2 separate regions of the Homo sapiens genome follow, and region 1 is linked to region 2. Evidence: promoter capture Hi-C in human tissues and cell types (Jung and others, 2019). All regions are on one chromosome and are shown on one strand. The core of a region is centred on a gene start or on the middle of the fragment in contact, and the rest is flanking DNA. Distances in the headings are between cores, read along the strand shown.

Region 1 (6,629 bases), core at 3,052-5,551, 810 kb after region 2:
CTGTTGCTCTTGGGCAGAGAAGGCAGTTTCTCTGCTTCCCTTAGCCCCTTCCCAGTCTTCCCCAGGCCTGTCCAGTGGGAGGGAAGCATTAGCCTGCAGTTCCTGACTTTTTGCCTTGGGAGGGCTCTCCATGGATTCCACTAGACATGTGAATTTGTCCTGGAGGAAGCACAGTGAGGGTTCTCAGTGGGACTGATGGCAGGGCAAGGGGTCCTCTAGAGAGAGGCAAGAGTAGCCAGATCCCTGACTTAGTTCCTCATTGATTCCGCTCCAGTTTCACCTGTGAGTTGGGTGGGTGTGCCTGAGGCAGGTGACTCTCCATCCCCGCCTCACCAAGTGGCCCACTCTGTCTCTGCCTTTTATCTGCTTCTTTCTTCCTTCTTTCCTTCTTTGCTTCCTTCCTTCCTTTCTTCCTTTCTTTCCTTCTTTTTTTTTTGACAGAGTCTCACTCTGTCGCCCAGGCCAGAGTGCAGTGGCACGATCTCGACTCACTGCACTCGGCTCACTGAATTCTGCCTCCCAGGTTCAAGCAATTCTCCTGGCTCAGCCTCCCGAGTAGCTGGGATTACACGCGTGTGCCACCACGCTTGGCTAAATTTTGTGTTTTTAGTAGAGACGGGGTTTTACCATATCGGCCAGGCTAGTCTTGAACTCCTGACCTCAGGTGATCCGCCCACCTCGGCCTCCCAAACTGCTGGGATTACAGCCACCATGCCTGGCCCAAGATGGTGTTTTACTAACTAAAATACATGAGTTAAAAAAAAAATTTGCTCTAAATTAAATTTAGTTAATTATGAAAAAAAAAACCTTTACAATCTTTGTTTCTCAAAAGTGAGAAGCTTGTAGGTGTCAGTAGAGAAAAAAACAACTTTATGGAAACCTGCAGCATTGCAGGGGTTAGGGGTGATGGGGAGGGCTGAGCAGATGGGCCCTTTCCAGTTCAGGAACCTTGGTCCCGAGCAGAAATATGATGATGAGAGTTCCTCATCTTTCCCTGGCTGCCTCCCTGGTAGTTGGTGCCACGTCTCCAGAAGTGGTTTGTAGTGAATTGTTTCTTTGGAGGCTGGAAGTGGACGATGCACAGGTGACCTCTGTGACAAGTGCTTAAAGGCAGATGTCACTGGCCATGTTTGTTGTAGTATTAGGATTTGGACATTGGCTAGAGATGCAGCCGCCAACATCTTTAGTCAAGAGGTGAGGAGCAGAGAGAGACAAAAGAAAAGGAAGAGAATGTAGGAGGGAGAGGAAAGTCTGAGAGTCTGTTAGAGAGGGTTTAGAGAGATGGGGATGGAGAGAATGCATCAGAAAGAGATCAGCAGGCTGGACATGGTAGGTCACGCCTGTAATCCCAACACTTTGGGAGGCCAAGGCGGGAAGATCGCCTGAGGTCAGGAGTTCCTGACCACCCTGGCCAACATGGTGAAACACCGTCTCTACTAAAAATACAAAGATTGGCTGGACATGGTGGTGGGCACCTATAATCCCAGCTACTCGGGAGGTTGAGGCAGGAGAACGACTTGAACCTAGGAGGCGGAAGTTGCAGCGAGCCAAGATCACAGCACTGCACTGCAGCCTAAGCAATAAAGTGAGACTCTGTGTTGGAAGAAATGAAGAAGAGAGAAAGAAAGAAAGAGAGAAAGAAAAGAAAGAAAGAAAGAAAGAAAGAAAAAAAGAAAGAAAGAAAGAAAGGAAAGAGAGAGGGAGAGAAAGAGAGAAAGAAAGAGAGAAAAAAAGAAAGAAAGAAAGACAACACCTTGTAACATTTTATTTCCTACTGTTGTAGTAATTGCTCTAGAAAGAAAGACAATATATTGGGCACATTGGTATTGTTCCGTGGTGAGCAGTTCTATGTAAACTTACCCTCAAAGGCCAAGGGCACTGAGAGGCCAAAGAAAGAGGCTGACAAATCGAGTTTCTCAGAAATAAACAATTAATGGTGACCTTTGAACAGAAGCTATGTGTCCAGTGGCTGCAAGAGGGTGGAACCCACACCCGTCCTCCAGAAAGTTTACTTTCTATAGAAAATTTTTATGCTAAACATGAGCACCTGGCCATGTCTCACACTTTCTTGCAGAAACTCTTGACCACTGGAGAGGTTAGATAAGCATCTTTATGAGACATTATCTACGCTACGGCCAATGTTTAAAGACCTTGTTGCCAAATACCTTGGTATGCGGGAGTCAAACATCTGTCATCATGATATTTTCCCTTCAAGATGAAATCACTCTGGCCATGCAGCAGGCTGTATACCTACACTCCACTCCTCAGTACTGGTCCTTGCAATCTCACGTGCCCACCTGTTCCTTGATAGTCCCTGGGTCTAGAGGGAGGGTGCTTGATATTGTATAGCTATAGCAGCAGCTCATTGGCTTTATTGGAGGAAAATGCTGCAGCAACAGTAAAGGCAAAACCAGGACAGTAAGGAACATAGGAGCACAACACCTAAACCAAGAAGCAGCTTCTGCCACCAGGTGCCCCAGGACCGAAGCCAGCTATGAAGCCAGTAACAACTACAGCATTCAACGCAGGGGTTCAGTCTGAGAAATTGGTCATTTGTGTTATATAGTCTCTCCAATCTCATCCTTGGAAAGGAGATACCCACCACGGCAGGCCAGAAGCATGGGAGAGTGGCATGAGGCCGCATACCAAACCAATGTTTTTCTTTTTTTCTTTCTTTCTTTTTTTTTTGAGATGGAGTCTTGCTCTGTTGCCCAGGTTGGAGTGCAGTGGCGTGATCTCAGCTCACTGCAACCTCCGCCTCCTGGGCTCAAGCGATTCTCCTGCCTCAGCCCCCTGAGTAGCTGGAATTACAGGCGCCTGCCACCACACCCGGCTAATTTTTGTATTTTTAGTAGAGACGGGGTTTCACCATGTTGGCCAGGCTGGTCTCAAACTCCTGAGCTCCAGTGATCCACCTGCCTCAGCCTCCCAAAATGCTGGGATTACAGGTGTGAGCCACTGTGCCCGGCCCCAACAGATGTTTTTCTGTAAGCCAACAGCATACTCTTGGGCCCATTGTAGGAAAAGGTTTGCTTCCTAGGTGGCAGCTAGTGATAGTATTGACAGAACATGACAACTAAGGATGAAAGGAAACAAACTTAGTGGGTATTTGCAAGGAAATTTATTTTCCATCTGTCAGAATACACCAGTCCATTCATTTAGAGTAGTTAGTATAGAGTCAGCTCTTGGCTTTTGTAAAGGGAAAGGGGCCATATACCAACCATGTTGCCCAAGGATGAAGTGTCAGCAGCCGTGGTCAAAGTAATTTGATTGAGAGTACACCATATTAGAGAGCTCACCACCATGCCATGGGGTATATATGCTTCCCCTGACCATTTATAATGAGTGATCGGGGACCAGTATTCAATAAGATCAATGCGAACCACTCTAACTGTTGAGGATATTCCCCCATCTCTGGCAGGAAATAGCCGATCCAGCCTGGGTGTATTTGCCATTCTGAGCCCCAGTGCAGTGTCCCCTCCTCTGGTAGAATGTCTGTCACTGTCTTCATGCAGAAAATATGGTGGGTGTCAACTAGGTCTGAAAGTAAAGCAGTCCTCTCAGTTACCCGTATGTGAAAAATAGTAGGCTTGGGGAATGGTGGTCCCAACCTATCACATGGGGCAGGCACCTCATCCCTTTGGCTGAAGTTAAAGAAATAAGGGCTTCAGATCACACATTCATCCACCTTTGCAAGGTAGGTTTCTCCAGGAAAGTTTGAATTTGTGCTTCTTTTTTTAAAAAAAACTTTTATTTTAGGTTCAGGGGTACATGTGCAGGTTCCTTATATAGGTAAATTGCATGTCACAGGGGTTTGGCGTACAGATTATTTCATCACCCAGGCAATAAGCTTAGTATCCTATAGGTAGTGTTTCGATCCTCCCTCCCTCCACTCTCAAGTAGGCCCTGGTGTCTCTTGTTCCCTTCTTTGTGTCCATGTGTACTCAATGTTTTGCTCCCATTTACAAGTGAGAACGTGCAGTATTTGGTTTTTTGTTCCTGTGTTAGTTCGCTTATAATACTGTTTCCCCTAACCATTTATAGCGGGTGATCATGGGTCCAGTATTCAATAGGAGCAATGGGAACCACTCTAACTGTTGAGGATATTCCCCCATCTATGGCAAGAAATAGCCTATCCAGCCTGGGGGTATTTGCCATTCTAAGCCCCAGTGCAGTGTCCTCTCCCCTGACAGTATATCTGTCAGTGTTGTTATGCACAAAATATGCTGGTTGTCAATCAGGTCTGGGAGCAAAGCGGTCTTCTCAGTTACCCATATGCAAATAGTGGTAGGCTTGGGGTACGGTGGTCCCAACAAGTCATATGGAGCAAGCATCCTGCTTTGGCTGAAGTTAAATACATAAGCCCTGCAGATCACACATTCATCCACTCTAGCAAGGTAGGTGATAGGTGATATGGTTTGGATCTGTATCTCCACCAAATCTCATGTCAAATTGTAATCCCCAATGTTGGAGGTGGGGCCTGGTGGGAGGTGATTGGATCAAGGGGGTGGATTACTCATGAATGGTTTAGCACCACCCCCTTCGTACTATCCTCACAATAGTGCGTGAGTTCTTGTGAGATCAGGTTGTTTAAAAGTGTGTAGCACTTCCTCTCTGACTCTCTTTTGCTCCTGCTCCTGCCATGTGAGATGCTTGTTCCCCCTTTGCCTTCCACCATGATCAGAAGCTTTCAGAGGCCTCTCCCAAAGCAGAAGCTGCTGTGCTTCCTGCATAGCCTGTATAACGGTGAGCCAATTAATCCTCTTTTCCAGTTACCCAGTCTCAGGTATTTCTTTGTAGCAATGTGAGAACGGATTAATACTGTAGGTTTCCCTAGGAAACTTTTTTTTTTTTGAGACAGAGTCTCGCTCTGTTGCCCAGGCTGGAGTGCAGTGGTATGCTCTTGGCTCACTGCAACCTCTGCCTCCCAGGTTCAAATAATTCTCTTGCCTCAGCCTCCAGAGTAGCTGGGATTACAGGTGTGTGCTACCACGGCCAGCTAATTTTTGTATTTTTTTTTTTTTAAATAGAGATGGGGTTTCGCCATGTTGGCCAGGCTAGTCTCGAACTCCTGACCTCAATCGATCCTCCCACCTCAGCCTCCCAAAGTGCTGGGATTACAAGTGTGAGCCACCATGCTCAGCCTCCCCAGGAAACTGAATTTGTGCTTTCAGAAGACCAGTTTTCTTTTTAGTGAACCCTGCTGTTTGGAGGTTACATGGGAGATGAAAATGCCATGATCTGTTGTGTTCCGTGGCCCAGTCCTGCACATCATGTCCAGCAAAATGGGTCTTTTGGTTACTGTCAATGTGTCAAAGATATCCATACATAGTACTGAGAGCCTCTAAACCTTTAATAGTACTGGCTTGATTAGCTCACTTACAAGGACAAACTTACAGCAGTTCAGTAGCAGTATCTACACAGGCCAATACATACTTTTTGTCTTGACTTACAAAAAGAAGCCCTATATAATTCATTTGCTGATCTGTTATAGGGTAGACAGCCCTATGAGTGTGTCCTGCATGGTATGGTATATAGTGTGGATGGAATCAAGAATGTGGTATACATTTGTATTAGTCCGTTTCTACACTGCTATAAAGAACTACCTAAGACTGCGTAACGTGTAAAGGAAAGAAGCTTAATTGACTCACAGCTCCATGTGGCTGGGGAGGCCTCAGCAAACTTACAATCATGGCAGAAGGCAAAGGGGAAGCAAGGACCTTCTTCACATGGTGGCAGGAGAGAAAGAGAGCAAGGAGGGAACTGCCAAACACCTTTAAACCATCAGATCTCATGAGAACTCACTCACTATCATGAGAACAGCATAGGGGAACCGCCCCCATGATCCAGCCACCTCCCCTGACATGTGTGAATTACAATTCAACATGAGATTTGGGTGCAGACACAGAGCCAAACCATATCAACATTTTTAACAGCTATTGGGAGGTCAGTATATTTTAAGGGCAATCCTGCCTTCTTGGCTATCTCCAAGCCTACTCTTGCACTTCTATGACTACTACTTTTGTTATGTACACAGGTCTCTATTTATTGGCCTGGGACAGAGCACAATGCTTCTAATTGTTCTTAGGGTGTCAGCTTCTATACTTCCTGGAACTGAGTCCTATTGTGTACCACTACATGAAATACCAACTATTTCATCAGCTGCAAGGTGTTGCAGCTTCTCTATGTGTCTTGCCACATGTTCATGCCTTATATGGGTTTGTGCATAAACACCCATTTTTCTTGTTGCCACTGGGCTAGCCACATAATTAGGCCTTTGAATGTAGCCCAGCTATCAGCACAAAGAGCCAGGGGCCAGGGCTTATGTGTGATTATTAACCAAGCAGCTTGCAACTCAGCCCACTGTCTACTGTGATGGGTACTTATATCAAGCCAGATTGTATCAGTTTGTGGTCATATAGCAACAGCGGTCCAAGTACAGGGGTTTCCCTTGCTGGAGCCATCTGTATACCAAGCATGATCAGGGATGCATAACACTCCTTTGCTTATCGAGTCACACACTGGGGTAGGAAGGGGCAAAGGGATGTCCTTTGGTTGCTCACATATAACAAGGCCTAACACAGCATGCAATTCTCGGCTTAAGGGATTGGTTACCAGGACACTTCATT
Region 2 (6,233 bases), core at 3,491-5,990:
CTTGGGATAGGGAGCCAGCTCCTCCCGGCGATGGTGGCGCCGTTCTTTGCCCTCTTCCCGGTCTGCCTTGTCATACCCGCGGTCCCGATCCCGTTCCCTGTCTCGCTCTCTCTCTCTGTCTACCTTGTCATAGCCACGCTCTCGATCCCTGTCAGACTTGTCGTGGCCCCGGTCTGACTTGTCGTGGCCCCTGTCTAGTTTCTCATGGCTGCGGTCCGACTTGTCATGGCCCCTGTCCGACTTGTCATGGCTCCGGTCCAACTTTTCTTCAGCATCTGGGGACACAAGTCTTGAAGTGACCTCTTGCCACCCCAGGACCCAGCAGCCTCTGCCTTCAACAACCTCCCTTGCCTGAGGCTGGGCCCGCCTGGTCTCACCTGCCCCTCTGATCCACTATCATTCTACTTGGCCTCTCCGTGAGAACTGCTAAGATCACTCAAGGCACGCTTGTACCTGCCAACTCACCTGCATTACTGCTTCTGAGCTTCTTGGCCGATTTGGTAACCACGGAGTTGGGGTCATGTGGGGAGAGCCAGGATACAAGGTCTGTGTCTGCATTCCAGTAGTAAGGGAGCCCGCTGTGGGGCCGCAGGAAAGAAGTGTCAGCACAGATGTCCTTGCCTTGGATCCTCAACTCTTGTCTCCCCAGTCTCTGCCTATACCTGCCCCATGTCAGGACCCCACAGGCAGGATCCCCAGAATCTCTTCTCCTGAAGAGAAAACACTGTCAGCTGGGCGTGGTGGCTCATGCCTGTAATCCCAGCACTTTGGGAGGCCGAGGCAGGCGGATCACCTGAGGTCAGGAGTTCGGGACCAGCCTGACCAATATGATGAAACCCCATCTCTACAAAAAATACAAAAATTAGCTGGGTGTGGTGGTGTGCACCTGTAATCCCAGCTACCTGGGAGGCTGAGACAGGAGAATCGCTTGAACCCACGAGGCGGAGGTTGCCATAAGCCGAGATCACACCATTGCACTCCAGCCCGGGCTACAAGAGTGAAACTCCGTTTCAAAAAAGAGAGAAAAGACAGTCTTCCAACCCCAGAGGAGCCAGGCCCCAGCAGGCAGCAACTTGAGTCCTGCAGATACCTAATGCCAACACCCTCCACCCGAGGCTCCCTCCCTTGTGTCCCCCTAAACCTCACAACCAAGGTCAGCACAGGAAGGGTGAAGCCAGAAGTTAGCTCCCCCTCACCCAGGCTCACCAGGAAGGGTCGAACACCTTGTACCAGCTTGGTGGTAGGCCCTCCAACCTGGTGGCCTCGTAGTCCACAGGATCATCGTCATAGTCCTCGGCAATGATCTCTTCCTCTGGTTCTGGTAGAACAAGGTGGGGATGAGGAGAGCAGATAAGGACCAGGGGACCTCATCCTACATGTAGAGCCTAGAGACACGCACTCACATTCACACAAGCCACACATAAAAGACACGTGTGTGTGTGTGCCGGGAAGAATATGAAGTATCTTTCACATTCCAAATCCAACTCTCTATATTAGGAGGTTTACAAAAAAAGGTTACCTAAATCTGTGTCTGGGTTCAGATGATGAGTTCTACTGTTAGCCAAAGCTATCTGGTTTCAGAGTTGATAGGGATTCATCAAAAAATTTACTCATCTTGGCCAGGCGTGATGGCTCATGCCTGTAATCCCAGCACTTTAGGAGGCCAAAGTGGGTGGATCACGAGGTCAGGAGTTCAAGACCAGCCTGGCCAAGATGGTGAAAACCCGTCTGTGAGACTAGCCTGGTCAACATAGTGAGACCCCTGTCTCTACAAAAAAAAAAAATTAGCTGGGCACAGTGGCACACGTCTGTAGTCCCAACTACTCAGGAGGCTGAGGCAGGAGGCTCATTTGAGCCCAGGACTTTGAGCTTGCAGTGAGCTATTATCGTGCCACTGCACTCCAGCCTGGGCAACAGAGTGAGACCCTGTCTCTAAACAAATAATAAATAATATATATACCATAGGCACAGGTCATTCAATAGGCTTAAAAGAAAATCCAGCCTGGCCAACATGGTGAAACCCCATCTCTACTAAAAAATACAAAAATTAGCCAGGCACAGTGGAGCACGCCTGTGGTCCTAGCTACTCGGGAGGCTGAGGCAGGAGAATCGCTTGAACCCGGGAGGCAGAGGTTGCAGTGGGCCAAGACTGCACCACTGCACTCCAGCCTAGGTGACAGAGCGAGACTCTCTCAAAAAAAAAAAAAAAAAAAAAAAAAAAAAGTAAATCAATGATCATTGCCAGTTTTATTTTTTTGAGATGGAGTCTTTCTCTGTTGCCCAGGCTGGAGTGCAGTGGCATGATCTCGGCTCACTGCAAGCTCCGCCTTCCGGGTTCACACCATTCTCCTGCCTCAGCCTCCCGAGTAGCTGGGACTACAGGCATCTGGCACCACGCCCGGCTAAGTTTTTTGTATTTTTATTAGAGATGGGGTTTCACCCTGTTAGCCAGAATGGTCTCGATCTCCTGACCTCGTGATCCGTCCACCTCCGCCTCCCAAAGCGCTGAGATTACAGGCATGAGGCACCCTGCCCGGCCTGGGATCATTGACAATTTTATTAACCACAAGGTCTATACCTTGCACACAGTAGGCTTGTAATAGATGTCAGTTATCAATAAGGAGAAGATATATTTTCCAGTGCCTGGCACACTATAGCCCCAAATAGATGCCAGTTTTTAGTATTACTGATAATAAGGTGTGATTTGCAGCCAGAGCACAGTAGGCCTAAATGATAGATCCTCACTGCAACTACGCTTGGCACACAGGAGACAGCAGTAGAGGTTAGCAGTACTTCCTATTAGATACTATGTCATCACCCCCATAGAGTAATCCATGGGATTTAACTTGGCATACAGTAGGCCCCAAATAGGCATTAGGTGGTCAGTATTATTTTGTTGTTTTTTTTGGATTTTTTTCAGACAGGGTCTCCATGTGTCGGCCAGGCTGGAGTGCAGTGGCACAATCTCGGCTCACTGCACCCTTGACATCCTAGGCTCAAGAGATCCTCTCACCTCAGCCTCCCAAGTAGCTGGGACTACAGGCATGCACCACAACACACGATTAATTTTTGTATTTTTTGTAAAGACGGGGTTTTGCCATGTTGCTCAGGCTAATCTCTTAATCCCTAAACTCAAGCAATCTACCCGCCTCAGCCTCCTAAAGTGCTGGGAATGCCAGCTTGAGCCGCCACGCCCAGCCAGTCAGTATTGTTAAGAATGAAATATCTGCCGGGCACAGTGGCTTATGCCTGTAATCCCAACCCTTTGGAAAGCCAAGGGTGGGGGGTGGATCACCTGAGGTCAGGAGTTAGAGGCCAGCCTAGCCAACATGGTGAAACCCGTCTCTACTAAAAATGCAAAAATCAGCCGGGTGTGGTATCACGTGCCTGTAATCCCAGCTACTTGGGAGGCTGAGACAGGAAAATCGCTTGAGCCCGGGAGGCGGAGGTTGCAGTGAGACGAGATCACGCCACAGCACTCCAGCCTGGGCGACAGACCGAGACTCTGTCTCAAAAAAAAAAAAAAAAAAATTGCCAGGTGTGGTGGGGCGGGGCGTGCCTGTAGTCCCAACTACTCGGGAAGTTAAGGCAGGAGAATCGCTTGAACCTGGAAGGCGGAGGTTTTAGTGAGCCGAGATCGCGCCACTGCACTCCAGCCTGGGTGCACAATAAGACTCTGCCTCAAAAAAAAAAAAAAAAAAAAAAAAAAAAAAAAAAAAAAAGAATGAAATATCTATTCCCCCAACCCCCTCCACTTGACACGCGGTAGGGATGGATGTCAGGAATCCACATTGTTAACAACGAAAAATGCCTGCCACCCCATTGCTTGGTGCACAGTTGGCCCATGCTAGGTATCAAGCGTCAGTATCAACAACAAAAGTGCCTGTCGAGGCTGGCACGTGTTAGGACCATCTGCTTTTAGCTGTCTCACCAGGCTCCAGATGTTTGAGGATGCCTCTCTTGGCCAAGCGGGTCTGCAGCGCAACGGGCAGCGGCATAGCTGATAGCAGACAGACCTAGGGACAGACGAACAAACTGACAAGCAGCTCAGATAAAGATTCCTATCTGGATCCCGTAACCAAGCGCCTCCCGTAAACATGTACTCATCTGACTCCGATCTACTCAAATGAACCAGTAGCTGGGTGGACAGAACATACGCACTAAAAGATGTAAGAGGTAGGTGGCAATATCATCGCAACTCCCACCAACCCTACTGTCCCCGAAACCAGGTGCTCCAGGGCCCTGTTCCTCTCCCAGGCCCAGGCTCCGCCCACAGCCTAAGAAGCCCGGCCCCTCCGCACTTCAGAAATGGGCTCATCCAGCGTCCCCATGACTGCCGGGTGGGAGAAACCAAAGCGCTGGGATGGGGGAGCAGAGGGCAGCACTTCCTCCAGCTCCAAAAGAGTGCACCCACCCCAACGTTACCAATACACTCGTGCAGGTAGTGGAAGGCTGTCACACCGCCCGTCTCTCTCGTGTCGCCGCTACGATACCTGGGCCCACACGACTCTCTTCCCAAAACACCGAATGAGACCTTCTCTCAACGAGGCCTTCACTCCCCGAGCCTGAAAGTAACTGGACTACGCTCAGGAGGCAATGAACAAATGGCAGAAACTCGATTGGCCAATGAGAGTGCGTCCTTGGCGTGACATGCGGTATAGCGACCCAATCGCTGCCCGGTAATAGGCGGAAAGCTCCGACGCCGGTGTGCGTCTACGCTGGGGGCGTGGCCTGACTGCGCGGCCAGACGCCAGCGCCATGGAGGAGTACGCTCGGGAGCCCTGGTACGGCAATGGGCACAGGCATCCGGAATATTGCTGCGACGCCAAGGCCAGCCGTGGGGGTCGGGCGGGGGAGGCATCGGCCGCACAGAGCCATGTACCAGACTCGGGGGACTCTTAACGTATCTCCCGCTACCCCCACTCGGTTCCTGTCATTCGGGCTCCGTTATGAGGGGCCACAACCAGAGAAGGTGCGGCGAAGGCCGAACCACGCCATGTTTCTCCTGACTTCGTAATCTCCTAGCCCTGTTAACGAAAAAAGACACGCTGGACGATCCATCCCGGCTAGGGGTGGTACGGTGTTGACCGGAAATCCCCAGAGTTGCCGCCAGTGGTTTTTCCCAGGTCGCCTTTGTCAGTGGGGGGCGGGGCACGGATGAACCTGTTGAGGGCCGGCGGGGACGGTGGATGCTTCCCGCGGTCGCTCTTGGTTTTTCCCAGTTGTGCCGGATTGAAAAGGGGCGGGGCATGGTTGGACGGGCTCACCGTCGGAGAAGGGGTGCGACGCGGTCCTGCTTTGCTGACAGTCTGTCTTGGCTAGTTAACACGCCTATGTCGCTTATTGAAACGTCAACTCTGCGTGTGCCAATTCATTTAATCTTTGATCACAGTAAAACCGTTGGCTGATTCCTTGGTTGGTAGACAGGGCGAAGACTAATATTTCTCCCCCTTTGCCCCATTTCTCGCTTTAATGGGGGGGTGTGTGGAAAAAGCGTGACAGAACTAGCTCATTATTATCTGAAGTGTTTGTTCCTACTTAGGAACTTCCCATTCTGGTGACTTGGTTTCTCCCAGTTAGAAAAGAGTTCGTGTGACAGGACCTGGGGGAGGGCTCACATTAACCCCGTCCTTCCCTTCCTGCTTGCAGCCCATGGCGAATTGTGGATGATTGCGGTGGAGCCTTCACTATGGGTGTCATCGGTGGCGGAGTCTTCCAGGCCATCAAGGGTTTCCGCAATGCCCCTGTTGTGAGTCCAGGCCTTCCCTGGGTTGGTGTGGGGTTAGCTATCTTGCCCACAAGGGAGGCTGCTCTGAAAACTGCTTGGAGCTGCCAGTCACGTGCACTTATTCATTCTGGTGCCCACTCACCTACTATGTGCCGAGCCTGGCTCCTGTATCTGGGATTTTGTAGGGATTGCAAACATGGCCTCTGTCTTCCACCCTCCACCCCACCCAACTGGAGCTCCTCTGTGGAAATGCTGTGTCGTTCAAAGAGTCATCACCAAATTTTAAATGTATGTGCAAAGCCAGACAGTTTTTTTTTTTTTTGAGACAGTCTTGCTCTGTTGCCCAGGCTAGAGTGCAGTGGCACGCTCTTGGCTCACTGCAACCTCTGCCTCCTGGGTTCAGGCAATTCTCCTGTCTCAGCCTCCCAAGTAGCTGGGACTACAGGCATGTGCCACCAGACCTGACGAATTTTTGTAATTTTAGTAGAAATGGGGTTTCACTATG

Evidence for each region. The method cuts DNA at HindIII sites, captures the fragments that hold promoters and counts their contacts. A contact is called where the count stands out against the background at its distance.
Region 1: a contact is called between a fragment that was not itself captured here and the fragment with the promoter of TIMM17B in region 2, in 1 of the 25 tissues and cell types used here (lymphoblastoid cells).

The regions. Positions count from the first base shown.
Region 1 is chrX:48,085,830-48,092,458 of GRCh38, reverse strand. No RefSeq gene overlaps it. Among named protein-coding and RNA genes, the nearest start is that of ZNF630, 18 kb to the right of the region's middle. The HindIII fragment of the contact is 3,925 bases long and covers 2,339-6,263 here.
Region 2 is chrX:48,896,275-48,902,507 of GRCh38, reverse strand. It overlaps TIMM17B (translocase of inner mitochondrial membrane 17B), which reads left to right and starts at 4,740. Exons shown (of 6, transcript NM_001395498.1): 1 at 4,740-4,784; 2 at 5,650-5,749. The coding sequence starts at 4,759. PQBP1 (polyglutamine binding protein 1) reads right to left here and starts at 4,578. Exons shown (of 7, transcript NM_001032382.2): 1 at 4,426-4,578; 2 at 3,932-4,016; 3 at 1,207-1,318; 4 at 466-578; 5 at 1-275. The coding sequence starts at 3,998. RefSeq lists enhancers at 3,915-4,134, 4,185-4,554, 4,845-5,044, 5,075-5,224. The HindIII fragment of the contact is 10,729 bases long and covers 1-6,233 here.